Linked DNA regions of Homo sapiens: all the other regions are linked to region 1. Evidence: promoter capture Hi-C in human tissues and cell types (Jung and others, 2019). All regions are on one chromosome and are shown on one strand. Each heading gives the region's core, a stretch centred on a gene start or on the middle of the fragment in contact. The rest is flanking DNA. Distances are from core to core; before and after follow the strand shown.

Region 1 (2,995 bases), core at 348-2,847:
TTTTAACTCTACAATCTTTTACGCCCATGCTGTTCTGCGAAAAAACTGTAACAACAATAACGCATAAGCGTTAAAGGAACCAGGCCCAGAGCCAGGCCCTCTGTGCTCAACATTCAACTCCACCACTTTCTAGCTATGTCATTTTGGGAAAGTTACTTAACAGCTCTTTGCCTCAGTCTCCTCACCTGTAAAATGGGGTGTATAATAACACAAGTGCCTTTAAAATCAGGAGGGGCTTCTTCAAAGCACAGTTGTGATTATATCCCTCTACTGATCAAAAACTTTATTCACAAAATCAAATCCACATCTTTCACGAACCATATAGATCTTGTGTAGGTTCTGCAAAACAATAAGCGCTTCCCTGTGTCATCTCCAGCAGCTCTGTGCTAGAAAGCCTTTTCCTTACCATCTTTCCAAGTCCACTTTAGGAAAGTAACTCTCCCTCCCATTCCACAGTGCACTCATCTGTTCCTCTGTACGTACGGTTTATCACTATTCCCCCTGGTTTTGTTTGGTCTTTTAATGCCTCACTCTTTCTCCTAAAGCAGTAATTGCAGAGAGCCGTTGCAAATCTTTTTCATCCCCGTTCCTACCCTTCATCCCAGAATGTGCCTGTGCAAGCCTGGGAAAAGCGTTACTGAATTAAACGGGATGATTACAACCGTAATGGCCGCAATTCCAGAAACTGCCTAATTTCGCATAATTTTGTATTGTTTTCAAATCCTGAAAATCTTGACACGAAAGGCCTCTTAAAATCAGAACACCATCCTTTCAAGAAAAGTTCTACCGAGCACCCCCACGAGTTGACATTGCGGTCATTCTTAGCTCCAGAAGTTGTGTGTGTGCCGCGGAAGGCAGATTCACACTGGTCCACACTGTACTTTGAAATAAGGGGTAAGAAGAGGCGGCTCCGGCCGCAGCGCGGGCTGTGCTCTGCTCTGCCCTCAACTTCCTATGGGCCCGCGGGCTCCGGCCGCGTTCGTCCCTCTCCGCCGCACTTCGTTCCCAGCCCTCGCCTCCCGATCCCGCTGCAGAAACACCCCCTCCCCGGAGAAGCCGCGCGGACGGCGCTGCAGGTCCTCCCCGGCGCTCCGGTCGGCCGGGGTCTGGGCCGCCACCCGCCCGGCTCGCGGCCCCCGGCCTCTCCCCAGGCCCGCCGCCCGCCGCCCGGGGCCCAGGCCCGCCGCCCGGGGCCCAGGCCGCCGCCGCCGCCGCCTCCAGGGGACCTAGGGGAACTCGCAGGGCTCCGCGTGGCGCCGGGGGCGGAGCCGGCCCGAAGGGCCCGGGGAGAGGCCGGGGGCGGACGACAGCCTCCGCCTACCCCGACACGCACCCCGCCGCCCCCAACCCAACCTCCCTGGGGCCCCGGCCCGCACCCGCGGCCCGGCAGCCGGCGGGACTCGCCACTTACCAACCCGCCTGGGACAACGCCGCGCCGGCCACCTGGGCCATGGTAGCTGCTTAGGCCGGGGGTGGTGGGGGGCTGGGGTGGGGGTGATGGGGAGGCCTCCTACTTGAGACCCCCCCCCTTAAAAAAAAAAAAAGAAAAGAAAAGAAAAAACTCCTCTGGTCGGCTCTGCAACTGGGCATGCTCAGTGCGGCCGGCGCTTCCGCGTGCGGGTTCCGCTCGCCGCGTTTTCTGAGCGGCCGTAGGGGCCGGCCTGGTGTGGGGCTCCCAGGCTGCGGAGCTCCGGGACCTGATCCACCAAACACCGGCTGGTGGCTGGAGTCAGGACGGTTCAGGGACTTTGCCTCTTCCCCGAAGGCTTTTACTTGTTTTGGGGGGCGCTTTTCTGAGTTGCACACCTTGGAAAGTCGCGAGGAGGTTCTTCGTAGAGCAAAAGTGTGGCGTTTGCAGCGCCCACAGGCGGCCACCTCAGAGAGGGCAGGATAAGGCCTGAGGAGACTGACGGGTTGGCTGCGAGGGAACGCGTCCAGGACCGCGCTAAAAAGGTCACGTTGCGGGCAGCAAAACTCAGAGGTGTCCCCAGCCCATTCTGCACAAAAGTTTACTTTCTTATAAACACTCGTTCCCTTCACCTCGCCTTTTGGTCCGCCCGGACGCAAAGAAAAAATGCAGCTCAAGCTTTTTTGAGTCCCCGCGGGCAGATCGAGTTGCCCCAGTCGGACACCACAGTGAAAATGCCCTGGTCAGCCCAAGAAAACCTGCTTTTAGGGGACATGGGGAAATGGGGCAGTTGTGTCAGTGCTTGTTTTTCCTGTTGCCCTCCCCCTGGGACCATCCGTGTCCTAGCGCGGCCCTGCCACCTTGGCTCTGTACTGCCAGATCTGGCAACCACAGCCGCTTCCCCGCCGATGCCCTTCGCCCGCGCTGTAGAGGGCTGGGGCGCAGGGTGGGTCCCTGAGTGGGCATGCGCGCCGCCGTCGCCCAGCGGCACGGCGGACGCTACCGCGCGATTGGGCGTCCGTGACTCACGCTGGCCAATCAGAGAGGAACAGGCGGAAGGGTACGCGGGCCCAAGAGGCGCTCCCTAAAAGTTTGCTCCACCTTCTTGGTCTTTCACCTCTGCGGCGTCCCGTATTGCGGGGAAAAAGGCTTCTAAGGGGCAGCGTCCCCATCTGCCAGGTCAGGGGAAGAAGACTGTTAGGAACTTAATCCCTATCTCCGCCGCTTGCCGCTGCCCCTGCTTCTAAGGGCATCATCAAAAACAGACTTGGAGCAGAGACTGCGGAACTGGGCAGAGGCGCTCTTGGGATTGGGGAGGAAATTGGCAGTTACGGAAGGAAGGGGATAATTGCCCTGGGTGGAGCTAAAATTCCTTAATACAGATTTTTCTCATTTCAGCTGGGGTATTCCGTTTGGTCTTCCCAAAAGTCATAGTTATAAAATCGCGATGCTTTCGTTAGATGGAATGCTATTGAGATTTGCTCCCAAGTATATTGTTTAGATAATTTTAGATCACAAGTAGCTCCATCCTGTTCGCTGCAATGTGCAGTAGTATGCAGTGTTTAAGTCATACGTATGCTACAGGTA
Region 2 (2,995 bases), core at 139-2,638, 730 kb after region 1:
ATTGCTGAAATGTGCATTTTGCCATCCAGTTGCAATTCCTGTTTTTCTGAAAACAAACCTTAAAAATCAAGAAAGGTGAAGGACATTTACATATTTAAGCTGACGGCACCCCTAACAACAAGGCAGGATTGTTTTGTTTAGGAAAGAATTTAAATGAAAGAACTCTCACTATCAGTTCTTAATGTGATTTTGCAGACTTGGGTTTTTCAGAAACAAAACTTAAATTCAACTAGATAGTTTGGGCACACCAGGAAGCAGGTAAAAACTCTGGAAACTTGGGACCGGGGAGCAGCCACGGGGGAGAAGAAGCCCGGCAAATAAAGGAAAGTGAAGATGACGGAGACTCCGAGGGGCAGAGGAAGGCAAGGAAGTCCAGAAATGGAGCAGTCAAGCCCCAGAGCGTCTGTCTGCAGGGGCTGAGGACAACTTTCAAGCAAGAGGGCCAGGAGCCCAAGGCTAGCAGAGTATCAGAAGCGTCTGGCCACCCACAGGTCAGCAGCCAGCACTCTCTCTCCCTTGATGACAGCAGCTGGCTCCAAAAAGGACCATAGCTGTGGAAAGGAAACCTCTAAATGTCTGATAAAGGTGAGTACCAACTCAAGGAACGATCATTTGGAGATACTTTTATTGGTAGATGCCCTTTCAGCAATGGGCTAGAGGTATGATTAGGGTTTTAAAATGCATGATATTTCCTTAGCCAAACCATAGCATTGACCTTTAATTTGAGGGCAGGAGTTGAGGTACAATTTTATTTTTTTGAATAAGCAGTTTGTTCATTTGAATGAGCCAGTATAATGATTAATTTTTTTTTTTTTTTTGAGACAGAGTCTGTCGCCCAGGCTGGAGTGCACTGGTGCGATCTCTGCTCTCTGCAAGCTCTGCCTCCCAGGTTCACACCACTCTCCTGCCTCAGCCTCCCGAGTAGCTAGGACTATAGGCGCCCACCACCACGTCTGGCTAATTTTTAGTAGAGACGGGGTTTCACTGTGTTAGCCAGAATGGTCTCGATCTCCTGACCTCGTGATCCGCCCGCCTAGGCCTCCCAAAGTGCTGGGATTACAGGCATGAGCCACCGTGCCCGGCAGATGATTAATTTTATGTGTCAACTTGACTGGGCTAAAGGATGCCCCAGACAAGCGGTACGGTTTTATTTCTTATTGTGCCTGTGAGGGTGTTTCTGGAAGAGATTTGCATTTGCATACATAGACTGAATAAGGAAGATAGCCCTCCCACTGTAGGTGGGCATCATCCAGTCTCCTGAGGGCCAGAATAGAACAGAAAGTGGAGAAAGTGTAAATCTGCACACTCTACTTCAGTTGCGACATCGTCCTCTCCTGCCCTTTCTCATCGGCCTTCCCGGTTCGTGGACCTTTGAACTCAGACTAGGATTTACATCACGGGCTTTTCTGCTTCTCAGGCCTTTGAGGTTGGACTGGAATTACACCTTCAGCTGGCAGATGGCAGATGGTGGGACTTCTCAGCTTCCAAAAAATCACCTGGTCCAATCCCTCATTATAAACCGTGCACTCTCCCTCTCTCTCTTTCTTTTGTCTGTCTCTCTAAGTGTGTGTGTGTGTGTGTGTGTGTGTGTGTGCATCTTGACAAGGATGTTCCATCCAGGCCAGTGACAAACCCCATGATATGGTTTGGCAGTGTCCCCATCCAAATCTCATCTTGAATTGTAGCTCCCATAATTCCCATGTGTCATGGGAGGGACCTGGTGGGAGGTCTTTCTTGTGCTGTTCTCATGATAGTGAATAAGTCTCATGAGATCTGATGGTTTATAAAGGGGAGTTCCCCTGCACAAGCTCTCTCTTGCCTGCCACCATGTAAGACATCCCTTGCTCTTCTGCCATGATTGTGAGGCCATGTGGAACTGTGAGTCCATTAAACCTCTTTCCTTTATAAATTACCCAGTCTTGGTTATATCTTTATTAGCAGAGTGAGAACAGACTAATACACCCCTGATCCCAGAAAGATCATTGTGCCCTTTCTCATGTTAGTGTAGAGAATTTGGCTGGAACACACAGACAATTGGGTGGTCATTGAGTTGTCCTAGAGCAATGATCCACTGCTAACAAGTTTTCCCCAACAAATATTTAAAGTAACTTAAAAATAATGGAAGTAATCTCATTACATGAGCTTGTATCTCCTTTATTGTTAACATATTTGCATATTTAAACAATATATCAAAGACACCTAGTTTTTATATGCGGAAGTGGGTATTTCAATAATTCATATCAAAATTTTCTGGTAAATCTAAAAAACACAATTTACAACAAGTTGCTCCGAAACTCTTTTAGTTGTTAATATACTATTTACTCAAAAACAGGAACGATTAATGACATTAAAATGATAGTTTACCCAAAAGTGATTATTTCTTGGGTGATTCATTTTTATTTTAAAATATCATAATCTGAAGTAGATCTTCATTTAGCTAGAAACTAAATTATTTAGGCTATAACATACATTTGTGCTAGATTTCCTCTGATTAATTAAGCTTTCTTTGATATGTAAACACATGTAGACTGGAAATACTTTTGGTGATAAGTTGTGTGGCAAACTTTTGTAGGGACTGTGTGACTTTTGGAAAGTAATAGGTCCTAATATGTGAACTGCTAGTTTGATTGAAAACCAAAAAAGTGACATTTATTTTCTTTGCCTTTCATATAAATTATTTAAAATGTTGAAATGTAAGAATTGTAGCTGGCAGTGACCTGGTAATCATTTTTGTCTGGTGAATTCTTAAATGGTAACCAGGCATGAGTGTTCTTAAAATATGTCCTAGGGCCACATTGTTCAACCGTTTTGCTCGAAAAGCTACTGTTTAGCAAAACACGTGGAGTTCCCAAAGACCCACAGAGACCGGATGGCATTTCAGAATTGAATCCAGATCTTTCCATAAAATGAAAATAACGGAACCTTGATCCATGAAAGTTCATTATTCCTAAGCAGACCTTTGCCTTTTAAAGTGGATCTAAGGAGAAGGTTAAAG
Region 3 (2,995 bases), core at 253-2,752, 710 kb after region 1:
TTCCTTCATGATTTGCCTAAAAATTTCTCCTTGATTCTGGTGCACCAGATATATACTTGGGAAACTGTCTAATCAAATTTTATTCTCTATTAGGAGCCATCTGTTTGCTGATGACGACTCTGTTTGTTTTTTATTTTAGTGCAATCCATTTTCAATCCTTCATCGGTTTTATCATACCACCTGCACTTCCCATTTTCCCAGCTCATTCCTTCCTTCCTCTTGTGTGGGTGAAGAAGGAGACAGGGTGTGGACAGCAGGAGGCCGCCGTACTCCTAACAGAATACTTGAGGCTCAAATTCTTCTCTCTGACTGATTAGAATGCCTCTCTCCCCAGGTAGTCCAGGCCTTCTTTACTTTCTCCCCTGTATTTAAGCTTCCTCAGAAATCTTGTGGCCTTTCAGGAGACTTTCTTGCAGCAGAAGAAAGAAGGTGCTAAATTCTTGCAATCTTTAACTTTCTATAACAAGAGATTCACAATTATCTCTCCCTCAATCATTGCTTTCTTTCTGTGCCTGGGGATTGACTAGTACATAATAAAGATGAAACCCAGTCTACGTAGTTGATTGCTTTTTGGTGAAACTCTATTACATAAACATCTTCTATGTGAAATTTCCAACATAATTTGATACTAAAATGTTAGTATTAGTTAACCCATGTTATGTGAGTTTTTTTCATTGTCTTCATATATTCATCTGCATGAGTGTGGCCTGTCTTGAATCCTAACCATCCACTAAATGGGTACTTGGTAGCATTTTTAATAGATTTTTCCTTTACGTAAAGTTCCCTGCAAGTTGTTTCTGATGTATCTAATCCTATTGTTACTCAAAACTGAAATGAGACCCTGCCCTTATGAAGCATGATTTCACTTAAACTATCTCTAGGTGGACCTCACTCCACCAAAATTCTATTGTATTTATTATGTGCACAATTCATTTGACACTTGAGTGACACTAAAAATGAGTCAACATAAGCTCCTCTTTTGTCCCTGGTCCCTTTCAGACCAATGACAGTACCTTAAACTTCTTGGTGGTTCCTAGCTCTGTGTCTTATGCATATAGGTGCTCAATAAACATTTATGGATTCATTATTCATTTATGTTTGGACTTACTTGTGAGGTTGAAATGTTCAATTGATCCACTTTTTGACCTTTTCAGTTATTATTTTTTTGTCAGTGGTTTTGATTATTCAGGTGCACTTTTACCATCAATAGGTCATATCTATAAATAGAAGTCTAGAGACATTTTTAATATGTTTGGGGAAAGAATAAAGAAATTCAGATTTTAAAATTGCAGGTGAATATTGTGCTAGTGATTAGCTTGGCCAACATACTTTGAAACAATTTATCAAGCTGAGAAAAAGACAACAATAGAGCCATCCCTTATGACCACAATTTCTATGGCTTCCTTCAAAAATAGCCATTTTAAAGTTTTTGTTTCCTTCTTCTTTTAATCTCTCATGTTATGAATAATATTTAGCTGAACTCCCAAAGCAACTGGGGGAAGAAAATCTTTGGTATTGATTTTGGATAAAATATGAGACATTTACTTTTGTGAATGCTAATCTCTGAAGGCTTCAATACAATCTTTTGTTCTCTGGGTTCTTGTGTCATTCAAAGATTTAAATTTAGACACCAATATGTTTTTGACCACAAGAAAGCCCTCTGAAACACCTAAGTATTAAAGTTTTAGTTGTTAATATCTATAGGATTTCATTATTTTAATTACCATCTCAGCAATTCCCAGTGGGTAATAATGGCATGTGGTTGTCCTGCCTGTACTTCTATGGGCAGTTCATCGAATAATCATCCTTATGTTACACTACATTGTGGTTCATTGTCTCTCTGAACTTTTTATTTTATCCATATTTGCTTAGCAACCAAGTTATAATTGTTTAAAATTTATCCTAACATTCTCTGAGTTTTTTCAATATATCATTTCAAGACACTAAGAGGAGATGTCAGATTTTGTCCTGACGTCTTATCAAAAGGGTTAAAACTCTACTTCCTGTATTCTTAGCCTCATAAAATCCTTTCTTCCTATAAATTCCAAAATATGACTGATCACAAAGCATATTAATAGATCTAAAAATGGGTGTGTTTTCTTTAAAACTGTATTTGTTGGAGACAAATACTTATACTCCATCAAAAGTTTTATCAGCTATAATTCCCTCTTATAATTGTTTTTAAAAGTCCAAACTAAGTTATTTTGCTCTGGTTGAGGCATGTTGGCTGATTTTTAGACTTGGATGAATTTCATTGTAAATTGCTGTTGGATGTGACTGGAGTACCCAGGAACTGTCAGGATGGCTCAGTGATTTAACGCTGGTGTCCTGCAGCTTTGACTGTAATCAGCAGATGCTGTGGTATTACCATAAATGTTTTCCTAACTGCTTCTGTCAAAAAGAGAAAATTCTTCCTGCACTGAGTCTGCTGCTTCTGATTAAATTCATTTTGCCTTCTTTTGCATAATTAATGTCCCATGATGATCTCTAACCTTTTGTTTTTAATATTGCCTCTTGGTCTAGACTCAGTCTTTACAGGGAAGCTCAACTAAGAGCAGACAAAGAGAAATGGTTGGTGCTTTTACATGAACCCCTAGCACCTCCATGGCTCTGAAGTCGTTACTGTTTTATATACCATGACTTGTCAAAGACCATGAAAGCTTCTGGTGTTTGCAATGTTTTTCATTGTTGTCCTAGTGCTCTATTCTACTTCAGAAGGCTATTTCTGTAATGCTTTGGTGCACATGGTTTTGCCTGAGGATGTGTGATGATAGGGTCTGCTTTAGAATGTTCTTACCCTGGTTGTGTAAATTGATAAACCTCTGACACAAGCCAGGCAAAAGGCTTCCTATTCTCCCGCAAAACTTTCTATACCCCTAGCCCGAAATAACTCAGAGATTATATTTGCTACAACAAAGTAAATGTGTATAAAACATAAGTATGTTAAAAATGAATACCATGTTTTGTCCGTGAACACATTTTATACATTATCTCA
Region 4 (2,995 bases), core at 155-2,654, 670 kb after region 1:
AGGCTGATTGAAAATATAGTCATTTTCTAGTCAGCAAATTGCTAGTCTGAAAATTTTTCATGTTCTCTCACCAGACTTGAGCAAAACTTAGCTATGCTGCAAATTATTGTATTTCCCAGACATATATTACATTTCAAAATTTAGCCACATTTTCACTTCTCAGATTTTAGCAGTAGAACACTTTTAACAACTAAAAACAGTAAATTGCTTGATACAGCTCTCTTCTATGTATTATAGAATACAGTCCTTGATAAATAAAAGTTGAAACTCTAGAATAGCTTTTCTTTTCTGGGGCATATATTCCTCACAGCAACAATAGTGCAAGATGCTATCTTATTTTCAACTCATATAGCCAAATTTTGAACTTATAGAAGAATTAAAGTAAACAAAGTACTTTCTATTCCCCAAAGGTGTAAAAATTAGGAAGGTGATTTCTATTATGTGTAATTTTCACAACGATTTCTTTCACTATCTGTGACTACCATAAAGGAAAGCCAGCTCATTTGACGCAATCGGCAATTTATGGCCCATCCCCTTTTGAAAGGATTTAAGGTAGCTTATCTTTTTAAGGATGAAGAAGTGAAAAGTTAATACTGTGATTTATTTTTGAGCTTCCTAACAGCCAGGGGAAAAAGAGGAAATAGAGCTTTTAGAGTGCCAAAACTTGGGCTGCATCTTCTAGGCAAATTCATACTTGAATTTAGGCTCAAGGAAATAAAACCCAAGAAATACCGAGAGTAAGGCCAACCAAGAGTTTTGTGTACCATTTATTCCCCATTATTTATAAGGCCGTGGATTACCCATACTGAGCTCATTCTTTCTATCTGAAAACAGGTGTCTTAAATTCTTTAGACAGTCTCAGGCTCCTAAGCTGGTTTGGAATAAGATCACTCTGCAGTGATAGTTCACACACGAGTTTTTTCTACTACTAGGGTTGCCAAATAAAACATAGAAATGTCAGTTAAATTTAAATTTCAAGTAAACAATGAATACTTAATATAAATATGTCCTAAATGTTGTGTAGGGTATACATATACTAAAAAGTTGTTCATTGTTTATCTAAAATTCATACTTCACTAAATGTACTCATTTTTTATATTATTTTATTTTGCCAAGTCTTGCAACCCTACCCATACTTGCTGGTAAAGCCCCTCACAGTGTATAATAGAGAACTATCCCTTTATCACAAAAACTGAGGGCCCATAGTGACAGCCAATCATATTCTTTTTTTTTTTTTTTTTTTTTAACTTTTAACACATTGAGGTGAACAGATAGATAGACTATCATTTTCTGGCTGGGTGCGGTGGCTCATGCCTGTAATCCCAGCACTTTGGGAGGCCGAGGCGGGCGGATCACGAGGTCAGGAGTTCGAGACCAGCCTGGCCAACATAGTGAAACCCCATCTCTACTAAAAATACAAAAAAAAATTAGCTGGGTGCGGTGGCACACACCTGTAGTCCCAGCTACTTGGGAGGCAGAGGCAGGAGAATTGCTTGAACCCAGGAGGCGGAGATTGCAGCGAGCCGAGATTGCGCCACTGCACACCAGCCCAGGTGACAGTGTGAGACTTCATCTCAAAAAGGAAAAAAAAAAAAGACCATCATTTTCGATCAGTGTCACTTAACAAAGAATCTTTAGACAGTGTACGACAAAACAGACTTTTACCAGGAGACTTGAATACTTCAAGTGAGCTATAGATTGGTGGGGAAAGACCACACACGCACACACATACACACACACACACAATATATAGTTAAATTAGGTTTCCACTTTAATTAGCCAGGGGTATAACATCTTATGGAAAGTTGGATGGATGCGTAGCAGGAGCAGATGTAGCATGTCTCAGAATCCATTGCCTCTAGAAATGAATGGGCACCTGCAGCTACCAGGACACACTGTTGCTGGAAAATAGGGTCTCACTGACTCTAAGAAGCTTAGTTCTTACTGTACTACTGTCTTAGGGTTTACATTCTAGAAGTACACTAACAATCTGGACACCTTGGCTCAAGTGAATATTTTAAACATTGAGCTCTCCTGGTCCTGGAATATATCTCAGTGTCACCAAGAACACATCTGCATTCAGAGTGGGGGAAAGAGTTCACACCCATTAGTCCCTGAACATTATTCTGAAGAGTTATTTTTCCTATAGAGTTTTAGAACCTCTTCCTCATCACTACCAAATAGGAAATCCATTTCTTGGAAGGGGTATGTATGTGCTGGCATGCTGTATAGGTCAGGGTTCTGGCTCAGAGACTAGAATCCAGTTTAAGCAGTGAAGTATTTAATCATGACATTGTAAGTGGATTCGGGGTCATTAGGAGGACTGAAGAAACAATTTAGATCAAGCTTTGATGAGCTACATGTGAAGCCCTAACACAGGCTACCATGGCATTTGCTCCCCGCTCTATGATACAGAAACTGCCTGCTGAATTGGGAAGCTGCTGGCTCCAGAACCTCACTGCCACTCCCTAACAGGAAGTCCCCATGATCAGGAAGCCACCACTGTTACTGCCAGACACAGAACCTTGCAGTGCCTGTTACAATCCACACCAGCATAACAGAGAGCTATCTTTCTGCCTTTTAGTACTACACAGCTAGTGACTAGATACAAGGATGGTTGCTGGTGCTATGAGAGAAAACCAAATGCTTCCACAGTCACACTTGCAAGAAACCCCACAAAAACGTGGCCTCCACCTTACTTCCAACATCCTAACCGTGAGCAATTTGAAGATTGGCCAAACCAAATCACATCCAAACTGCATGGGGTCTCTGATGTGGTTTTTAGCTTCTAGCCACTGCAGTACAGGAAGACACTCTAGTAGATGGTTAAAAATGGATGTTGAATGTCAGTCCACCATAACCAGGATACATTACCTGTTCACAAGTAATAATCATATTTTATTAATTCCTTTGAACCCTACCAAAGGGAAAAATCAATAAAGGCCATGTCATAAGGCTCTCAGACTCTTTTTGAAAAATGTTTCCTAAGGACCTC
Region 5 (2,995 bases), core at 347-2,846, 620 kb after region 1:
GGTCAGGAGTTCGAGACCAGCCTGGCCAACATGGTGAAACCCTGTCTCTAGTAAAAATGCAAAAATTAGGTGGGCATGGTGGGGCACGCCTGTAATCCCAGCTACTTGGGAGGCTGAGACAGGAGAATCGCTTGGACCCGGGAGGCAGAGGTTGCTGTGAGCTGAGATCATGCCACTGCACTCCAGTCTGGGCGACAGAGCAAGACTCCATCTCAAAAAAAAAAAAAGAAAAAGACTTCCTTCATTTGTAACATATCTAAAACAGTGCTTGAAACATTTAATAATAAGCAGGCATTTCATACATGTCCTGTAATTTACCATGGATTTTATCTGTGAATTTCTTTCCCTATATTTGTATATCACTTAGCAATTTATCAAGTGCTTTCATTTGTATTATCTCATTTGATTCCCTCATTAACCCTAGACAGGTATTGTCTGTATTGCATATGTCAGGAATGATTATGTATATAATAGTCTAGTGTCTCACAGGTAGTTAGTTGAAAGCTCAGACTAGAATGCAAGTTGTTTTACTTCATTATTGTATTCTTCCCATTATGCATGTGAGAGTGAAGGCCAAAAATAGCCATCTGCTCTGGAGGATGAGAGCAGGGGTAGAGGTTCCAGGTGGACAGTGATGGACGAGAGAAAGAATGTTTGTAGAGAATCACAGGCAGTTGCCTTTAGCTAAAGAACAGGTTGGGATGGTTGGAAGTAAGAGATACAATTGGAAATACAATTGAAATCATTGTTGGGGTAGGAATAAGAGTTTGGACTTTATCTGTCAAAATCCATTTGAGCAAAAAAAAGAAAATTAAAAATAAAAATGAAAAAAAGAGTTGGAACTTTATATTGTAAGAACTGAGATATATTGAAACTTTGTGACCGGGGGAACTGAAGATCATTTCTGCTGTAGGACTTACTTATCAGTAATGCATGGGCAGAATTAGGGAGAAACTGGAAGCAATGTGACTAGGCAACTCATGCAGTATTCCAGATAAAAAATAATTCAGTTCTGTAATACCAACATAAAGTGTAGTTAGAAAAGGAACAGCAGATTAGTTCAGGAGATAATGGGGAGTTTCAGTCTATAGTATTTGACAACTAAATAGATGTATGAGACAAGGGAAAAGGAAGAAAGAAAGCTGTGTTGTTTAGAATGGTGGCGGGAATGTATTCCCATCTCTTCCCTGGACCCCTGTCCATCTATGAGCTTTATTCTCATGCATAATCAACCCTTCCAGCTGACCATCTTAGCTAATTTAGTCAACATATATTTAGCTAATTTAGTCAACATATATTTAGCTAATTTAGCCAGCATATATTTATTGAACACTCTCTATATAATAGTCGCATTTTGCCAGGTGTTGAAGATAAATGAAATCTATAATCCCTGCCCTCAGTGGGCTCGTGGTTTAGTGGTAGAAAGAGTCACATAAACAATATAACATTGTAAAGAATTTATTGGTATATGTATTACAGACCACTGGGACACAGAGGGGCACCTAGTTTATGCCACATGGGTCAGGAAAGGATTCTCAGTTCTCCGTTTTGAAGGAAGGGTAAGAGCTAGCTTGGTGAAGAAAGTGAGACAGATGTTCTGTGTAGATATAATAGCATGTTCAAAGGCATGAAGTAATAAACATGAGACTGTGTAAGTTGTTTTGTGAGCCTAAAACTGTCAGCATTTATTGCCTAAGAACAATGAGATTATTCTAGTGAACCATAATACAGTTATCACACTCTGATAACTTAACATTGGTACAATGTAATTATCTGATACCCAGTCCATATTCAAATTTCTCCAGTTATCCCAATAACGTCATATATAACTTCTTTCAATTCAGGGGTTAATCAGGGACTCCTCTATACTTCATTGTCGTTCCTCTTTAGTCTCTTTTAATCTAGAACAGTTCTCTAGCCTTTTCTTCTCTCTTTCTCTATTTCTTCCTCTCTTTATCTTTCATGATATTGATACATTTTTAGATCCTAGGCCAGTTGTGTCACAGAATGTCCCTTACTTTGGACTTCTATGATTGTTGCCTTGCATTCAGATTCAAGTTAAATATTTTTGTGCGAAGTGCTACACAGGTTAAGTTGTGCATCACTTCAGGAGGCAATTGATATCAGCATATTCCACATTGTTGGTAATGTCAAATTTGATTATTTGGATAAGGTGGTATCTACCAGATTTCTCTATATCCTGTTCCTCTACATCCCTTATGCACAATAGTTTTTGCAACCGTTGATGACTCCTGCCTGAATCATTTCTTACTATGTGAATTGTAATGTGGTGAATTTTGTAGTTCCCTCATATCTTTGACATCTATTAGTTGACACTGTTCTTTAAAGAGGAACTCTCCTTCCTACATTTTTATTACTATGTATTTTTTAGTATCACTATGGATGCATGATTCTTTTTTCCTCAGTGTGCAATAATCCCATTCCCATGATTATTTATTTGATACTCAGTTGTCCTAAATTTGGCCAAGGCAATGTTTCAATCTGGCTTCTTTGTCTTTTCAACATATCACTATCTATTTTTGAGCACTTTCTTATTTTCTGGCACAACAATATGTTTCTGACTCATTTCACACTTTCTTGGCCTCAGTTCTAGAATCAGCCATTTCTGTAAGCATTGTCATTCCTTTTAGGGAGTAATGGTATGTAGAAACCAAGATCTGAGGGCGAGAGAGGTCATTAGAAACGAAGATTTTAGGACTAGTAACGGTAGCTAGAAACCAAGATCCAAATGCTCATTGATGCTACTATAGTGTTATAGGAAAAGGGTTTTTTTGTTTGTTTGTTTGTTTGTTTTGTTTTGTTAAGCCTTGAGCTTACATTAATACCTATACATCCAATCCAACCCTTCTTGGTTCTTTTTCTTTTTCTCCAATTCCATATTTCCATTTTCTTTCCCACAGTGAGCACATCGGCACATTTACACATCTGCTCCAGCTTTTATACACACACAATAGTCTGAGAATCACTACATCAA
Region 6 (2,995 bases), core at 215-2,714, 590 kb after region 1:
GTATACTTAAGATTTATATGGGCTGCTTTATTAGTATATTAATGAACTTAGTGAAAAAGGAAAATACAACCACTTGTTTCTGTAATTAAACCATAGAACAATTCTTTCTTTATGGTCTTCTTTCCCTTCCATTTACTAACGAGTAGTGTAGTGTCTTCATTCCAGTGTTGGTCATAGGTGATTTGGTCCTCTGTTATGCTGTTTTCGTTCCAGCGTATTCACGTTTCTTTAATTACTACCTCAATAATCAATCTTTAATAATGTATGTCAGTTAATAAAGTAACTGTCAGAAATGGACTGTGGAAAATTCTATAGGACATGTAACCCGGTTTCTTCAACAAAATATCCCAAGGGAGGGAAAAAAAGTGATGGAGGATAAACATTGTTTAAAAGAAAGAGACTTAAGCGACATATCAGCCAATTGTAATGTATGGAATTTATGTGTATTCCAATCTGTGGTCCCAGCTACTCGGGAGGTTGAGGTGGGAGGATCGCCTGAGCCTGGAAGGTTGAGGCTGCAGTATGCCTTGATCTTGACACTGCACTCCAGCCTGGGAGACAGAGTGAGATTTTGTTTCAAAAAAACAACAAAAAGAAAAAAGCAGTCTGAACATTTTGGATACTTTTTTTTTTCTTGTAAACATGACAAAATTGTTGTCAATATGTTTCAAAGTATCTTTTAGAGACTGGTACTGAAATTTTACAGAAACATATGTATATATGTATTTCAAGAAGCTAAAAGATACCACTTATTTAGAAGCAAAAGAATTATGTAAAATATAGTTATATTTTCATTCCCTGAAAAATTTGGCTTTTCTACTTCCAAGTCAGTAAGGATTGAACAAGGCTTTAATTAAAATCCATCCGCTTCACTGCTAAATCACCATAGTTTACAATTCAGGGTTGCAAATTCACCTAAGGTTTCCCCAGGAATAGACAGAGATGCCTACTTTGCCTTCTTTACTTTCACTTTACAGGTATATTTTTATGCTTACTAAAGCGAAACGAGTACCTTAATGTATTGCACTTGTTTCTTCCTGGGAAGAAAAATCATCTAAGCACAATTTCTTGTTTATATTTGAAATTCAGGGAATATTCTCAGAATTATTTTTAAGTATGAATAAAAATGGAGATCAGAAAGATTTAGTATTTATTTTTAAAATATGCTTCTGGAAAGAATTTTAAATTAATATATTACTTCCTAATTTACAGAAGATTCTGGTGTTTGAACATTAGCTTTTTTTTTTTTTTTTGAGATGGAGTTTCGCTCTTCTTGCCCAGGCTGGAGTGCAATGGCGCGATCTCGGCTCACTGCAACTTCTGCCTCCTGGGTTCGAGGGATTCTCCTGCCTCAAGCCTCCCGAGTGGCTGGGATTACAGGGGCCCGCCACCATGCCCGGCTAATTTTGTATTTTTAGTAGAGACCGAGTTTCGCCGTGTTGGCCAGGCTGGTCTTTAACTCCTGACCTCAGGTGACCCACCCACCTCAGCCTCCCAAAGTGCTGGGATTACAGGCGTGAGCCACTGCTCCCAGCCTGAACATTAGCTCTTTTAGCGTTGTCTATAGTTATCTAGATGAGTTGCTAGATGGCAGATTGGATGTATTGTTTGTGGGTTTTGCCCAGGGTCTGATCACACAGAGTGTCTCAGTAATTCTCTCTTATACCAATTTGAAAGATTGAAACTTGATAGGGCAAAGAAATTCTAATAAAACTTCCAATGTAATGTCAGTGATGTTTTAATTTAAATTTATGTCTCCCTAAGGAAGCTTTCACTTTTAAGAATAAGTTTATTTCTCAAATTTATTTACATTATCGAAAACACCTAAAAAATAGTAGATCAAAAGGCTGTTACCCATAATCTTCCTATCCAAAAAATCACTGTAAACATTTCTGCACACTGTTCTTTCAGTTTTAAATTTTTCTGCCTTCTAATAGTAGCTATGATCCTAGTAAATATGCAATTCAGTGTCTCACTTTATGTTGCTGAACTTTTGAATGTTTCATGTTATTCATAGCTTGTAATTCTTATAATTTTTAATATATATATGATTGATTCCACTGGTTGTGCCATATACAATTTAACTTGCATTAGTCAGTAATGAAGTCATGGAACAATAGTTATTGCTGACTTTTCAATGTGATTAATCTTTTTGTCCATAAATAGAAAATGTTTGTAATTATTTTATTGGACATGGAATAGAAAAGGATATTTTTAAGACTTTTGATGCATACTTACAAACTGATTTTCAGAAGCATAACTTTAATTTTCTCAACTTTCAACATTGGGTTATGATTGTGCCTTGGTTGAATATTCTTATTTTTTAAGATTTTTGCTAATTTTATAGATTTTAAAATTATGTTTTATTATCTTAATTTGCATTTCTTTGAGTATTACTAAAGTTGGACTTTTAAAAAGCGTTTATAAGTTCATTTTTAGTTCCTCTGTTGTGAATTGTTATCTTTTTCTTATTGATTTGTACAAGTTAGCTCAGTATGTATTCATATTTACATTTTAAATACCTCCTTCTAATGTGGCTTTTTTATTTCTATATCTTGATATATATAAAACTTTTATTTTCATTCTATGATGTTTTAATATTTGCCTTTGTGATTTTTTTCTGTCACCTTTAAGTTTAGAAAATCATCCTTTCACTGATTTCATATCAACTTCATTTCTTTTCTAGTTTTGATTATTTATAATATGACTGTACTCTACTTATTTATAATCTTCCCTTAATCATATATTTGATATATAGGTTTTAATATAAAAGGATCTGTTTCTAAATTTTACCAAAAGCATTCTAATATTTAGCCATCAATTGTGTTTAATAGCTGGTTTATGTTTCTTTAAAATAGGTAATTTTATGTTGATGACATTACCTTCTTTTCTTAATTTTAAAAAAAGCTTGAATGTTTTTAATTTTAACAATAGATTTAAAGAAACGTTTTATTATATCTTTCGTTAATCATAGAGCTCATCTTATTTGACCTAT

What was found. Contacts are between HindIII fragments. The study calls those that stand out against the background at their distance.
Region 2: a contact is called between a fragment that was not itself captured here and the fragment with the promoter of TDRD3 in region 1, in 2 of the 25 tissues and cell types used here (H1 embryonic stem cells and mesendoderm cells).
Region 3: a fragment that was not itself captured here is called in contact with the fragment with the promoter of TDRD3 in region 1 in 1 of the 25 tissues and cell types used here (lymphoblastoid cells).
Region 4: a fragment that was not itself captured here is called in contact with the fragment with the promoter of TDRD3 in region 1 in 3 of the 25 tissues and cell types used here (dorsolateral prefrontal cortex, lymphoblastoid cells and mesendoderm cells).
Region 5: a fragment that was not itself captured here is called in contact with the fragment with the promoter of TDRD3 in region 1 in 1 of the 25 tissues and cell types used here (lymphoblastoid cells).
Region 6: a contact is called between a fragment that was not itself captured here and the fragment with the promoter of TDRD3 in region 1, in 1 of the 25 tissues and cell types used here (lymphoblastoid cells).

The regions. Positions count from the first base shown.
Region 1 is chr13:60,395,822-60,398,816 of GRCh38, reverse strand. TDRD3 (tudor domain containing 3) reads right to left here and starts at 1,597. Exons shown (of 14, transcript NM_001146070.2): 1 at 1,412-1,597. The coding sequence starts at 1,452. RefSeq lists enhancers at 746-795, 1,676-1,875, 1,725-2,237, 1,946-2,275, 2,606-2,675 and a silencer at 966-1,535. The HindIII fragment of the contact is 4,558 bases long and covers 832-2,995 here.
Region 2 is chr13:59,662,265-59,665,259 of GRCh38, reverse strand. No RefSeq gene overlaps it. Among named protein-coding and RNA genes, the nearest start is that of DIAPH3-AS1, 350 kb to the left of the region's middle. The HindIII fragment of the contact is 6,973 bases long and covers 1-2,995 here.
Region 3 is chr13:59,686,562-59,689,556 of GRCh38, reverse strand. The region is part of intron 27 of DIAPH3 (diaphanous related formin 3); the gene reads left to right. Among named protein-coding and RNA genes, the nearest start is that of DIAPH3-AS1, 320 kb to the left of the region's middle. The HindIII fragment of the contact is 4,477 bases long and covers 1-2,995 here.
Region 4 is chr13:59,722,210-59,725,204 of GRCh38, reverse strand. The region is part of intron 27 of DIAPH3 (diaphanous related formin 3); the gene reads left to right. Among named protein-coding and RNA genes, the nearest start is that of DIAPH3-AS1, 290 kb to the left of the region's middle. The HindIII fragment of the contact is 4,835 bases long and covers 1-2,995 here.
Region 5 is chr13:59,776,749-59,779,743 of GRCh38, reverse strand. The region is part of intron 25 of DIAPH3 (diaphanous related formin 3); the gene reads left to right. Among named protein-coding and RNA genes, the nearest start is that of DIAPH3-AS1, 230 kb to the left of the region's middle. The HindIII fragment of the contact is 9,017 bases long and covers 1-2,995 here.
Region 6 is chr13:59,807,761-59,810,755 of GRCh38, reverse strand. The region is part of intron 25 of DIAPH3 (diaphanous related formin 3); the gene reads left to right. Among named protein-coding and RNA genes, the nearest start is that of DIAPH3-AS1, 200 kb to the left of the region's middle. The HindIII fragment of the contact is 5,884 bases long and covers 1-2,995 here.